Regions from separate parts of the Homo sapiens genome. Here region 1 is linked to region 2. The links are contacts of gene promoters, found by promoter capture Hi-C in blood cells and fetal thymus (Javierre and others, 2016). All regions are on one chromosome and are shown on one strand. Each heading gives the region's core, a stretch centred on a gene start or on the middle of the fragment in contact. The rest is flanking DNA. Distances are from core to core; before and after follow the strand shown.

What was found. Contacts are between HindIII fragments. The CHiCAGO score rates a contact against its expected background, and 5 or more counts as called.
Region 1: a fragment that was not itself captured here is called in contact with the fragment with the promoter of SLC25A40 in region 2 in 1 of 17 cell types (M2 macrophages); the score reaches 5.6 in M2 macrophages.

Annotation. Positions count from the first base shown.
Region 1 is chr7:90,405,125-90,411,850 of GRCh38, forward strand. CLDN12 (claudin 12) reads left to right here. Exons shown (of 4, transcript NM_001185072.3): 2 at 395-484. Among named protein-coding and RNA genes, the nearest start is that of CLDN12, 5.0 kb to the left of the region's middle. The HindIII fragment of the contact is 5,522 bases long and covers 1-4,472 here.
Region 2 is chr7:87,871,367-87,877,676 of GRCh38, forward strand. It overlaps SLC25A40 (solute carrier family 25 member 40), which reads right to left and starts at 4,994. Exons shown (of 12, transcript NM_018843.4): 1 at 4,730-4,994. DBF4 (DBF4-CDC7 kinase regulatory subunit) reads left to right here and starts at 5,127. Exons shown (of 12, transcript NM_006716.4): 1 at 5,127-5,412. The coding sequence starts at 5,367. RefSeq lists silencers at 4,387-4,836, 4,967-5,226 and enhancers at 4,590-5,099, 5,287-5,406. The HindIII fragment of the contact is 3,397 bases long and covers 3,570-6,310 here.

The sequences.
Region 1 (6,726 bases), core at 462-2,961, 2.5 Mb after region 2:
CAATCTCAGCTCACGGTAACCTCCACCTCCCAGGTTCAAGCGGTTCTTGTGCCTTAACCTCCCACATGGCTGGGACTATAGGCATGAGCCACCATGCCCAGCTAATTTTTGTATTTTTAGGAGAGATGGGGTTTTGCCATGTTGGCCAGGCTGGTCTTGAACTCGGGCTCAAGTGATCATCCCGCCTCAGCTTCCCAAAGTGTTGGGATTACAGGTGTAAGCCACTGTGCCCCTGCTAAACTGCCTTTTTAAAAAACTTACTGTCTGCCCTTTTTAGTATAACATTTCATTGGTTTTAGGTGATTACTAATCATTTCTTCTAATCCATGGGAATTCAAGCAGGGTTTTTAGAGAAGTACTATGTTAATTTGGAGTATTTTTCCTATTTCTTTAGGCTCAGATTATTGCTACTCTGTATTCAGATCTTCATGTGTCTCTTCTAAGCTGAATAAAGCTGTTTTGGAACTGTCAGGTACCTCAAAGCGTAAGTACGTCCTTTAATTATATCTTATTTCCCTCCCTCCTGCTACCACATCTGCCAACAATGACTCTTTTTTTTTCTCTTGTTCAACAAAATAGAGGTATAGGACAGACCTCTCTTGTGAGTACAATGACTGATGACTTACAGTTTCTAAGAAAACCCAAATTATAGGTAGAAGGAACTCTCAATGTTACCATCAAGAATTAAGTTAGGGCTGGGCATGGTGGCTCAGCCCTGTAACCCTAGCGCTTTGAGAGGCTGAGGTGGAAGGATCCCTTGAGCCCAGGAGTTTGAGACCATCCTGGGCAACATAGCGAGATCCTGACTGTATGAGAAAATTTTAAAAAATTAGCCAGTTGTGGTGGTACATGCCTATAGTCCCAGCTACTCTGGAAGCTGAGGTGGGAGGATTGCTTGAGCCTCGGAGGTCGAGGCTGCAGTGAGCCATGATTGCACCACTGTGCTCCAGCCTGGGTGAGAAAGCGAGACCCTGTCTCAAAAAAATAGAAGCTAGCTGCTATTAGACATATGTACTCTCGTAACTCTTGTAACTATAACTCAGAATTGTGCCTGGAAAAAATAGTACAGGGTCTATTGGATACATGACTTCCTAAAGCTCTTAGCCACTGTTCCTGCTCCAGCCTTCTTTAAATTCTATTCAAAACCACAGAAAATATATAATTTGAAAATATTTTTATTCGTAATTATGTCTCTGATAACATTTAATTGTGTATCAAATTTTATCTACTTTTCTGAGTCACGGTGGAACAGAGAGTCAAATGACAAATGTGAAGTGGTTATTTGAAATAGAGTCTCTATTTGATTTGGTCAGTATCTCCAAAGAGAATGTTCTGTCCTTCTTGTTATATGACTATAACCATCTGTAGTCATTTGCTGAGGGTCCAGAAGAAAAGTATGTTTCTAGCTGAAAAAAGTAAATAAGCCTGCTAATAATCATTACTGACTTACATTTCTGACCATATTCTGGTTTACAAAGGACTTTGCTATTCATGATTTTACTACTTTGTGGGACACTTTACAGATGAAAAATTGGAGGTTCAGAGGACATAAGTGACTTGTCCAGTTTGTAAATGATAGGTTATGAATGTTATTCAGGTCTTTGGTCTCCTGGACAACAATACCAAGCAGCCTCCTGGATGGAAACAACAAACCACTTATGTGTATGTATGACCTAGCTCAAAGCTCTCATCCAGCTAGTACTCATGACTGCTTGACAGATTTGTTAAAGTGTTCTTAGCCTTGCACGTTTTCCACAGTCCCTAATTAGGGATTTTCACATGGCAAAAAGATGTTTTTTTTTCTCCATTAAAAAAACTATATATTGTTTAGCTTTAATAAATATTAATTTGATATATTAACCACTCTTAAGAGAAGTATGTCTAATTCATGACATACCTGTTAAGTTGAAAACAGAAAAATCAATACCGGAACAGTGGACTTTTTGTTTTTGAAATGGAGTCTCGGGGTTTCACCATATTGGCCAGGCTAGTCTCAAACTCCTGACCTCGTGATCCACCCACCTCGGCCTCCCAAAGTGCTGGGATTACAGGCATGAGCCACCACGCCGCGCCAGGAATAATTGACTTTCAAACCATTTGTTGAAGTTAGACAGTGTTGCTAAACCTAGATATATATTTCTAGAATCATAGTCTGCATGTAGGTACCTAAGGATGGCCTTGTCTTTGCTAATCACAGGTTTCTGGGGTAAGAAAATGAATGTTGTTTTGTAAAATGGGAGTCTTTTGGCCAAAAAGGAGAAAGCAGGGGCACAGTCTAGAAACAGTCTGGATGTATCAGAACACAGGGTGGTGTGAATTCTCTCAAATGAAGTGAATGGAACTGAGACTAAATTTCTGTCTGTATTCTGACCAGAGTTATACAGAACCTCCATTTGTTTGTTCATTCATTCAGCAAATAATCGAGTGCCTTTTATGTGCCAGTATAGGGAACAGTGAACAAAACAAAGGGATCTCTGTCCCTGGAATTCACAGTCTGATGGGAAAGAAAACTACACTGAACAAGGAGTTATAAGAATGATCACTGCTACAGAAGAAAAAGTGCAAAAGTGCTACCACAGCATATAACCAGGGACAGGGGGAGGTTTAGGACAAGCCTCCCTGGACACTAGAAGAATGAGTAAATATTAGCCAAGCAAAGAATAGGTTGGAATTAAGAAAGTTCTAGGAGAAAGACCATGAGGGAAGGCCCTTAACCAAATCAGAAAGTGGAAAATTTGGGAAGTCAAAAGAAATGTGGTTTGGCTGCATAGACTGTAGTGTGTGGGGTGGGAGAGTGGCACATACGAAGGTTGAGAATTTGGTAGGAATCAGGTGGTGTAAGCTATGGGGAGGAGTTGAAACTTTAGAGATTTTATTCTGTGGGAAATGGGAACTTATTGAATGGTAAGAAATGGAATGGCGGATGAGGTTTGCATTTGAAAAAAATTATTGTGGATTAAAACTAATTGACACAGCACAAGAGTAGAGGTCTTTTTACCCTTGCAAGTATGAACAAATCCTAATCGGGAAGTCAGCATTATCTTTGTTTTAAAACATCAAACATATTCTTTCCCCAAACTATCCTATAAAATTTTACTTCAGGCATGGTGGCTTACTTTTGTAATCCCAGCCCTTTGAAAGGTGGAGGTGGGGGGATTGCTTGAGCCCAAGAGTTCAAGACCAGCCTGGGCAACACAGCAAGACCCCATCTCTAGGGAAAACTTAAAAATTAGTCTGGCATGGTGGCATGCACCTGTTATCCCAGCTACTCAGGAGGCTGAGGCAGGAGGATTACTTGAGCCCAGGATCTCAGCTCACTGAAATCTAGTGAGCTGTGATCATGCCCTGCACTCCAGCTTGGGTGATAGAGTAAGACCCTGTCTTAAAAGAAATTACTTTATCTCTCTGGTGGGATATATGACTTATCAAATCATAGGCATTTGAAATTAAGAACAGGGCATACAAGGTGAAGTAGCCAAAAGAAGCTAGACATTAATTCCAGTATCAGGCCAAAATTTAGCTTAAGAATTAAGGTTAATAGTACTTCCCTTCTGAAAAAGTGCCGTGGTATCCTTGTTGACTCTGTATAGATAGGCCTCTGTCCATCCCTGAGATCTGAGCTAAGAATGCTTCATCAAAGGCAATTTCAGAGAACCAATATAATATTTGTATTGATTTGATGCAGAATATAGTTAAAAGCACTTACTACTGAAATATATATTGTCGTACCTCTCTTCATTAATGTCATTTGATAGTCTATAGGCTAAGAATTATAGGAATTTATTTATTTTTCTTAATAATTAATTTTTCTTTTTTTTGTAGAGATGGGGTCTCGCTATGTTGCCCAATCTGGTCTCAAACTCCTGGGCTCAAGCTATCCTCCCACCGCAGCCTCCCCAAGTGCTGGAATTACAGGCATGAGCCACAGCACCTGGCCTGGAATTTATTAATAATGGAGTTATACATCCTGATCTTGTTTCTCACTCCATTTACATTTCAGGAATCAGTGTTACAGGGCAGTTTGATTGGAGAAATCTCAATTACATTGAAATTCCAATTATTTCTATACTACTTTTGTTTTTTGTTCCTGTTTGTTTGTTTGTTTGTTTGTTTTGAGACAGAGTCTCGTGCTCTGTCACCCAGACTGGAGTGCAGTGGTGTGATCTGGCTCACTGCAACCTCCACCTCCTGGGTTCAAGCGATTCTCCTGCCTCAGCCTCTTGAGTAGCAGGGATTACAGGCACGTGCCACCATGCCTGGCTAGTTTTTGTATTTTTAGTAGAGATGGGGTTTCACCATGTTGACCAGGCTGGTCTGAAACTCCTGACCTCAAGTGATCTACCAGCCTTGGCCTCCCAAAGTGCTGGGATTTCAGGCATGAGCCAATTCGCCCAGCCAGTATATTACTTCTGAAAGCAAGAAGGAATTGTGATTGCATTAGGACTTTGAGTGGGTTATCTGAAGACTTCTGAAGCTTGAAAGAAACGAGGGAACCTTTTTCCTATGTCTTCACAACTTTAATCAAATCCTTATTCTCCTTCATTTCTCAGTCTTTAACTCCTGCCTGATAAATTTTTATGAACAGGTACCTTATTCACTTTGCTTAACACCTAACAATAATCACTTGATACGTAGTAATTATACAGTTGATTCACCACCAACACTTTGAGTTTACATAAGACAGCCGTTTCTTTCCACAAGTCTCTATAAACACATTGGGAGCAAGGTCCAGTTATCAGTGGTCTTGGTGTCTTTCCAGGGCCTAACAGAGTGTTTTGCATATGCTAGACACTCAGCATGATGTAAGTACTTGCTGAATGAATGATTGCTTCTTAGTAATAGCTACTTCCTTGTACAGTTCTTCATTACCAGTGGCCCACCTTTGTGAGTTACTGGGGTCTTTGTACAGAGCCCAATACTCGTTTATTCAAATAATCCTAGAATCACTTGTGTGCCAGGCACACAAGTTGTATGGGGGAGATAGACAGATGAATAAGCAAAGACCACCAGAGAGCTGTATCCTAGAGCTTGGCATTTCTAGTAGCTTTTTCCAGTGCAAACATTCTCAAATCTGTACTAGTTTCCATTGCTGTACTGAGGTGTTTGGTTGCCACAATTAAGCAAGACAGCTTTTTCCCAATTTGCTTGAAAAAAATACTGTAATTAGTCTCTCCCTTTCATAAAATTTTCTTAAGAAATTGCTACTTCTGATAATACTGACAGAAGGTAACATAATAAATACTAAACTAATACTAATGGAAAAACTTAGAACTAACCATGTTTAACTTGAGGGCTTTAAAAATGGTTACTTGTGCTTAAACTCTGATTTTTATATTGTACATTTATATATGCTATTTGTGTATATTTGAATATATGTATGTACACATAGGCATTTTTTTGGTTAGTAAAATTATTCTGGCTGGGCGCAGTTGCTCATGACTATAATCCCAGCTTGTAATTTCAGCACTTTTGGAGGCCAAGGCAGCAAGATTGCTTGAGGCCAGGAGTTCGAGACCAGCCTGGCCAACATGGTGAAACCATGTCTCTAAAAGAAAGAAAAGAAGAAAGGGAATAAGAATTGTGGGGGTGGAAGGAGGAGGGCTGGTTCACACCTGTAATCTCAGTACTTTGGGAGGCTGACGCTGGTGGATTGCTTGAGCCCAGGAGTTCGAGACCAGCCTAGGCAACATGAGAAAACCCCGTCTCTACAAAAAATACAAAAATTAGCTGAACATAGTGACGTGTGCTTATGGTCCCAGCTACTCAGGAGGCTGAGGTGGGAGGATCGCTTGAGCCTGGAAGGTCAAGGCTGCAGTGAGCCATGATTGTGTCATTGCACTCTAGCCTGGGCAACAGAGTAAGACTTGTTTCAAAAAAAAAAGAAAGAAAAAGAAAAAATTATTCCTATATTATATGACTAGATTAAATATACAAATAACATTGTTTTCTAAAGAACATTGTGCCCTCCCACTGGAATTCATGCAACAATCACATTCTAAGCCAGCTTCCTAGCATTTTGGTCATAATTGTCTTTCTGATCCTGAAAGCTTGGAAACACAACTTCACCATCCCAGCAGATGTTTGATTCTGCAAAGGTTGATGGAACTGTATTCAGAAATAAAAATTATTCTCAACCTTGCCCCTTCATCATGCTCTGAACAAAAAAGTAAACCTTACTGAAGTAGTCTGCTCTATTGCCTCATAGTAGGCATTATAGAAGGCAGAGAAAATACATTTGAGTCCTGCTTTGAGAGTGAATATCAGACCCTTGAGGAAATTAAAGCTGAATAAGATGCAAGCTTTTTATAGTTTGCCATATACAGAAAAAGAACATGGCCTTTTAATTTGGAATGAAAGGCCTGGCGACTGTTTTTCTTATAATAGCATTAATAGAAATAGGTTGTCGTTACTTGAAAAATGTTTGCATTCGTCTTATATGAACAGTAGTAGTAATAACCAACAAGTGCTGTAGATTTCCCTGAAAATCTACATCTTGAATCAACAAGGAAGTAATTGGGTCATGTTGAATCAACAAGGAAGTAATTAAGCAGAATAATTTCAGGGACCATTGTTCTCATCTTTTCATTTGACTGACTCATTGGAGATGAGCTCATTTACTTTTTATAATTTCCTAGTGTGCCTAGTACATAGGAATGAGATCAGTTTGTTTTTTCTTATTTAACATTCATTCAATGAATGTTCTTTGAACTCCTGTGATGTGCCAAG
Region 2 (6,310 bases), core at 3,744-6,243:
GTGAGCTTTAAATTAGATCCCTCCCTGGTTGAGCCTTGAGATAAATGCAACCTCAGCCAACACCTTCACTGCACTGTCCTGAGAGATCCTGAGCTTGCTTAACTAAGCTGCATCCAGATTCCTGACACACAAAAACTGTGAGATAATAAAGATTAGTTATTTTAAGATAACTACATTTTGGAATAATTTGTTATACAGCAACAGGTAGTATCTATTGAGATGATACATACGGTTTTTCCTTTTTGGTCTGGTTACATGGTGATTTACACTGCTTGATTCCTGGAATAAACCTCCATTTACTCATGATGTTTTATCCTTTGTATATAGAATTGGTTTTCATTTGTTAAATTTTTGCTAAGAATTTAACCATCTATGTTTATTAGGGATGCTGATCCATAATTTTTTGTATCATCTTTGCCTTTCTTAAAATGCACATGTGAGAGAATTCACCAGTGAAGCTATCCAGACCTGGAGTTTTCTTTAGTAGATATAAGAATATTTAGGTTATTTCTTCTCCTGTAAGCTTTGACAGTTAGTGTACTTCAAGTAATTTGTCCATTTCATTTAAGTTGTTGAATTTATCAGCATAAGGTTGTTCATAATATTACTTTGTTGTCATTTTAACATCCATTGGTTCTGTAGTTGTGTACCTTTCACTAATTTATTAAAGATCTTAATAAATGAAGAAATATTACCATTTCATAGACTGGAAGAATAAATGCTATAAAGATATAAATTCTTCCAAATTTATCTATAGATTCACAGGAATCATAACCTCTTACTTAATCTTCTTACATAATCTTCTTACTTTTGTGGGTTTGACAAACTCTTTTCCAAAACTTACATGGAAGTAGAAAATGGCAAGAACTACCTAAAGTTTTGAGATGCAGCTAAAGCAGCATTTACAATGAAATTTATAGCATTACATGCTTGTATTAGAGAAGGCCTAAAATTAACTATCTAAGCTAAAAACAAAAGAGCAAATTAGAACCAAAAGAAGAAGAAATGAAAATAAAAACCAATAAAATTGAAAGCTGAAAAACAATAGGAAAAAACAATAAAAGCTGGTCCCTTGAGGCAAAAGAATAAAAAATAAATAAACGTCCAGTCAGATGATAGAGGAAGAAGAAAACCTTTGACAACATCCCACACCCACCATGACTGAAAGGCTTGAGCAAGCCTTTCAATCCTTTTCAATGAAAGGGAAATTCCTCGGTTTGATAAGAACCATTTACTACTCTCATCATTTCTATTCAACAAAGTACTGAAGAATTTAGCCAGTACAATAAAGCAAGATAAACAAATTAAATGCAGGCTGGGCACAGTGGCTCACGCTTGTAATCCTAGCACTTTGGGAGGTCGAGGCTGGCGGATCATCTGAGGTCAGGAGTTCAAGACCAGCCTGGCCAACACAGTGAAACCCTGTCTCTACTAAAAATACAAAAATTAGCTGGGCATGGTGGCAGGCGCCTGTAATTTAAAGTGAACACACTTAGGATGTCTTCAAGGGCCTGATAATGCTGAATTTACCCTGGTTTCCCAGCCCACAGTCACCTGAGACATTAACTACAGTTCCACAGCCACTAACCAATCCTATCCTTTCATGCACTTAGCCTGCAAAACTAAGAATTTAACCTTACATATAACCTTAAGCCCTCCAATTCACCAGGATAGTGAGACTATGAAATGTGAAAATTAATAAAAATAGATCAGAACACATTTCAGAAGACGACATATCAATAGTTGGCAAATGAATCAAACAGGAATGATTATACCCAAATGAGCAGGAGATAAAGGATGAATCTAAGCTAGGTTTGCTATGGACAGGAAAAAATAATTGCTGAGCCAGGTGAAGAGGCTTAGGCAAAAGAAAGAAAAAAAAAGTGATAAGTACTACAAAATTAATTTGTCTAGATTCTAGAACAAAAAATTTATATTTGGGTATGTGTGAGGTAATCTGAAAGATCAGATTAGGTCTCTGATAATCACAAAAAGTTGTGGAGTAGACTGAACAATATTATCTTCATTTATAGATAAGTAAATTCTAGCATAGAAAGGTTAACTTTTTTTTTTTTTTTTTTTTTGAGAGGGAGTCTCGCTCTGTTGCCCACGCTGGAGTGCAGTGGCGCAATTTCCGCTCACTGCAACCTCCGCCTTCTGGGTTCAAGTGATTCTCCTGCCTCAGCCTCCTGAGTAGCTGGGGTTACAGGCGGGGACCACCATGCCCAGCTAATTTTTGTATTGTTAGTACAGCCAGAGTTTCACCATGTTGGCCAGGCTGGTCTCCAACTTCTGACCTCGTGATCCGCCACCTCGGCCTCCCAAAGTGCTGGGATTATAGGCTTGAGCCACCGTGCCCAGCCAGAAAGGTTAACATTTGCCCATGGTCACAAAACTAGTTAGGGACAGGGCCAGCAATGAATAAAATTCATTTCTCTTGATTCACAGCCACATATTCATTTAATTAGATCATGATTCTGCTCAATGTTCTCCAATTTTGCCTAATATAACTCTTGAACAAAGTTTCTCACCATAAATAACCCTGCCCCCATTCACTTCTTCTTAAATGTCTACCCTTCCTCTGAAGAAATGTTTTCAAGCATATTTTCAAGATCTACTTTAAGACAAACCCTACCCTCTTACCAACAGACCTGATTACTGGACAATAAAAAGGAGGTTTCTATCCTTACTGACTACAGCCATATCCTTTCTGTGGCTACTAACAGATTTAGGTTCCAGTAATATTTTAAAAACTAACCTTGGATAATAGATTAGAAAATTACTAACTATTGCATAAAGCGGACTTCCTGCTTATTTATTGCTTGGAATTACCATCTTCAGTGCAGTCGAGGGTGAGTCTAACCGCATAGGGTGCAACTATGTTACTGTCCTTCCTCTTCACGGCAAATAAGACACACAATTCATCTTTCACAAGACCATAAAATGGGACTTCCTTTTTTAAAAAAAAGTTCCTCAATAGAAGCATGCTTAAAAATCTTTCCCACATCCTCTAAACCTTCCAAAGATCCAGTCTTCCCTTCATTATACTTTCCTACAATAACAAATTTTTTTGAAAGAGTACACTCAACCTGTCTGAACTTCAAGATTATAATTTTTATCTAGTACTGTACTTATCTCTGCCACCTACTCAAATTACCCTTAAGGAAACCAAGGATACCTGAAACGCCAAAATCAAATACTTATTTTTCAAGTCTTAACCTTATCTGTCCTGGGGATGAAGGAACTGGTGCAGTGTTCACTAGAATGATAGTAATTATGGAGCTCTTAAGGAGCTCTACTCTGTGCCAGGCACTGTACTAAGCATTCAAAAATGTTCATTTAATCTTCACAACATCCCTGAGAAGTACTACCCCCTTTTAATAGATTAAAATTGGGGCTCAAAATTACCCAGAGGCCAAGTAGTTAGTGAAGCCCATATGATTCCAATGTTTGCAGTCTCTTCCCAATTCTGTGGCATTTTCTCCATCTCTTTCACTATTTCATCAACGACGCTTATAATCAATTCTCTTATTTCACATGCTCTCCTTGGCAATTTCATTTCCTCCCAAAGCTTTAACTACATTCTATATTAGTGCTTCCCAACTTTTTAAATCTTTCTGTAAATATAAACATTTTGTGCTCTCTGTAGCTTATATTTTGAAAATAAGTTTTTTCCCATAGAAATTACAATATTGAATATGTTTGTTCAAACTACACTTCCTTCCACCACTCAAGATCTGTTAACCTCTAATGAATTGCCCCATGATTGACATCAATAGACCTTGATGCAGAAATATTTTATTGGAGAGATATCAAATCAATCTCTATTTCCTCTTCCCATGTCCACTTCTGCTAGACATTTCTCTCGAGTCATAAACATCTTTAACTGTCTAATAAGCATAGTTCCATGACTGTCGCCCCAGGCCCTTCAACATAAACCTGTCTAAAACCAAACTCTCATTTCCCTTAGCAAACCTGTTCTCTGCGTTCTCCAGCTAATCTTGTCACAACCCACCCTTGTCTATTCTTTAAGGTACCTACCTGCAAAACCGTAACGCTGATACTCTGACTTCCTTGAGCTACCAGGTAAAAAAATCAACCACTACAGGAGTGCCTATTATGGCCTGGAGTAGAGGAATGCAAAATAGTTCAAAATATCCTCTTCCTCCTGAAGAAACAGATTTTTTTTTTTTTTTGGAGAGGCATGTTCCAACTTATAAAATTAAAATATATTCACAAGCATTTTAATTTGATCTTTAATCTCTGTTTTACAGGAAAAAAAAATGAGATGTTACTTTCCACTCCTTCATTGTTGAAATAAACTTACACTCAACTAAAAGAAAACAGGTCTGAATACAATAAAAGTCAACAGGACAGCGCAAATAGCCAACTACCCAAGGACACAAAGTGACCTGGAGGCGTTCTGCGGTGGCGCTGCCGTCAAGGCCGGGGCCGCCTGGCCAGACCCTCCCTCAGACGCCCCCCGGGGCCGCCCTCACTCCCGCACGTCCCTCTGCAGCTGTCCTCAGCCGGTGGGGTCGGCAGTGACCGCGGGAAAACCCCGCTTGCTGTGCGACCCAGGGCGCGCTGAGCAGGGGCTGCGGCTGCCGCCGCTGTCCGGCTCCGGTTCCGGCCCCGGCCCCGGGCCCGGCCAGAGCTGAGTCCGGACTCAGCCAAAGCCCCTCGCCTTCAGCTTCCCAGACGTCCGACCAGTGGAAAATTAGCATACCTGGGGCAGAAGGCAGCTGCAGGGCCGGCAGTCCTGGCAAACCTAGAAGGCGGGAATAACCCTGGTGACGGGCGGGGCCGGGCTCCGGCGCTAACTGCATCCACTAGGTTTGGTCAACACAGAGCCGCGCCAACTCTCTGAGGCTGCGCCAAGACCTGAAGCGGCGGACCGAGAGCCCGGGTCTGAGACTGAGAGAGCAACGGAATGGAGGCGGGGTAGAGGCGGAAACACAACCTGCAGGGCCAGAGCGAGGCGCGAGAAGGACGGCGGCGTGAGGGGGCGGGGCGCGCAGCGCGAGAAGGCAGGCACGAGGGGCGAGCGCGAGGCGGGGCACGGCGCGTGGCGTGAGACGGGGCGGGGCGCGCGTATCGGCGCCGCGGCCGCGTGACGCGTTTTCAAATCTTCAACCGCCGCAGCCCACTCGTTTGTGCTTTGCGCCTTCCTCCTCCGCGCCTTGGAGCCGGATCCGGCCCCGGAAACCCGACCTGCAGACGCGGTACCTCTACTGCGTAGAGGCCGTAGCTGGCGGAAGGAGAGAGGCGGCCGTCCTGTCAACAGGCCGGGGGAAGCCGTGCTTTCGCGGCTGCCCGGTGCGACACTTTCTCCGGACCCAGCATGTAGGTGCCGGGCGACTGCCATGAACTCCGGAGCCATGAGGATCCACAGTAAAGGACATTTCCAGGGTAAGAAGCCCCTCCTCCGCCTGCAGTCCCTTTAATCCTTTCCTCCCCTCGTGGTTCCACCATTGATTCTTCAGACTTCTCCCGCCGGGTCCTCAGCTTCTTTTCTTCTGACCGGCCTCTGGGGTCTGAAGGAAGGAGCCCCCGTTCAGTGTTTTGCCTAAGAAGGAACGGATCCTGACCCGGCCCCTCGAGCGCTCTGCCGTTTACAGCGGCGGTCCCAGATTGATTCCCGGTCGTGCCTTCGGTTGAAAACTAGCAAACAATGTGCAGATCCGGGACCTCGCCGGGACTGCGGCGCTGTCTGCTCCCGGGCTCTCGCATATGCTAAGCCTCCGCCCGGGCCCTTGGAGGCGACGGACTGCATCCTCAATTTAAAGTCAGACGCGCTCGTGGCTTTTCGCTTCAGGATTAGATTGAGTGATTGTGGGTGGATTTTTGGTCTTACCCTTGAAAGTTTATTTTCCTTTCCTCATAAGTTGGGGGAAAGCATTGTATTTCAAACACCCCATTGCTGGTTTCAACATTACAAACAGGGAAACAAAAGCAAATTTCCATTTTCAGTCACTTTATTTGGTGAAACATTCCAGCACCTAAGTTTTTTGTACAGGTGTTTGTGTGTGTGTAGTAACTACCAATTTAAGAACAGATTGCGTTTGAAAAATTAATTTTTAAAGCAGTTGCTTGGATCTCAGATCTGTTTCTAATGAAAATAATGAAAGGTTTAGTTCTTCGTAATGGACCGTTAAGTTCTTAATACGTAGACAAATTGTATGTGAAATGGACCGTTTAGTTGTTAATATGCAGACAAACTTTATATGAAACTAAAACTTGAGCAGTCTGAAACCCTTGAGGACTAGGTTATTCTGCGTAACAGAGGATTCTTTCATCGCTAAATGAA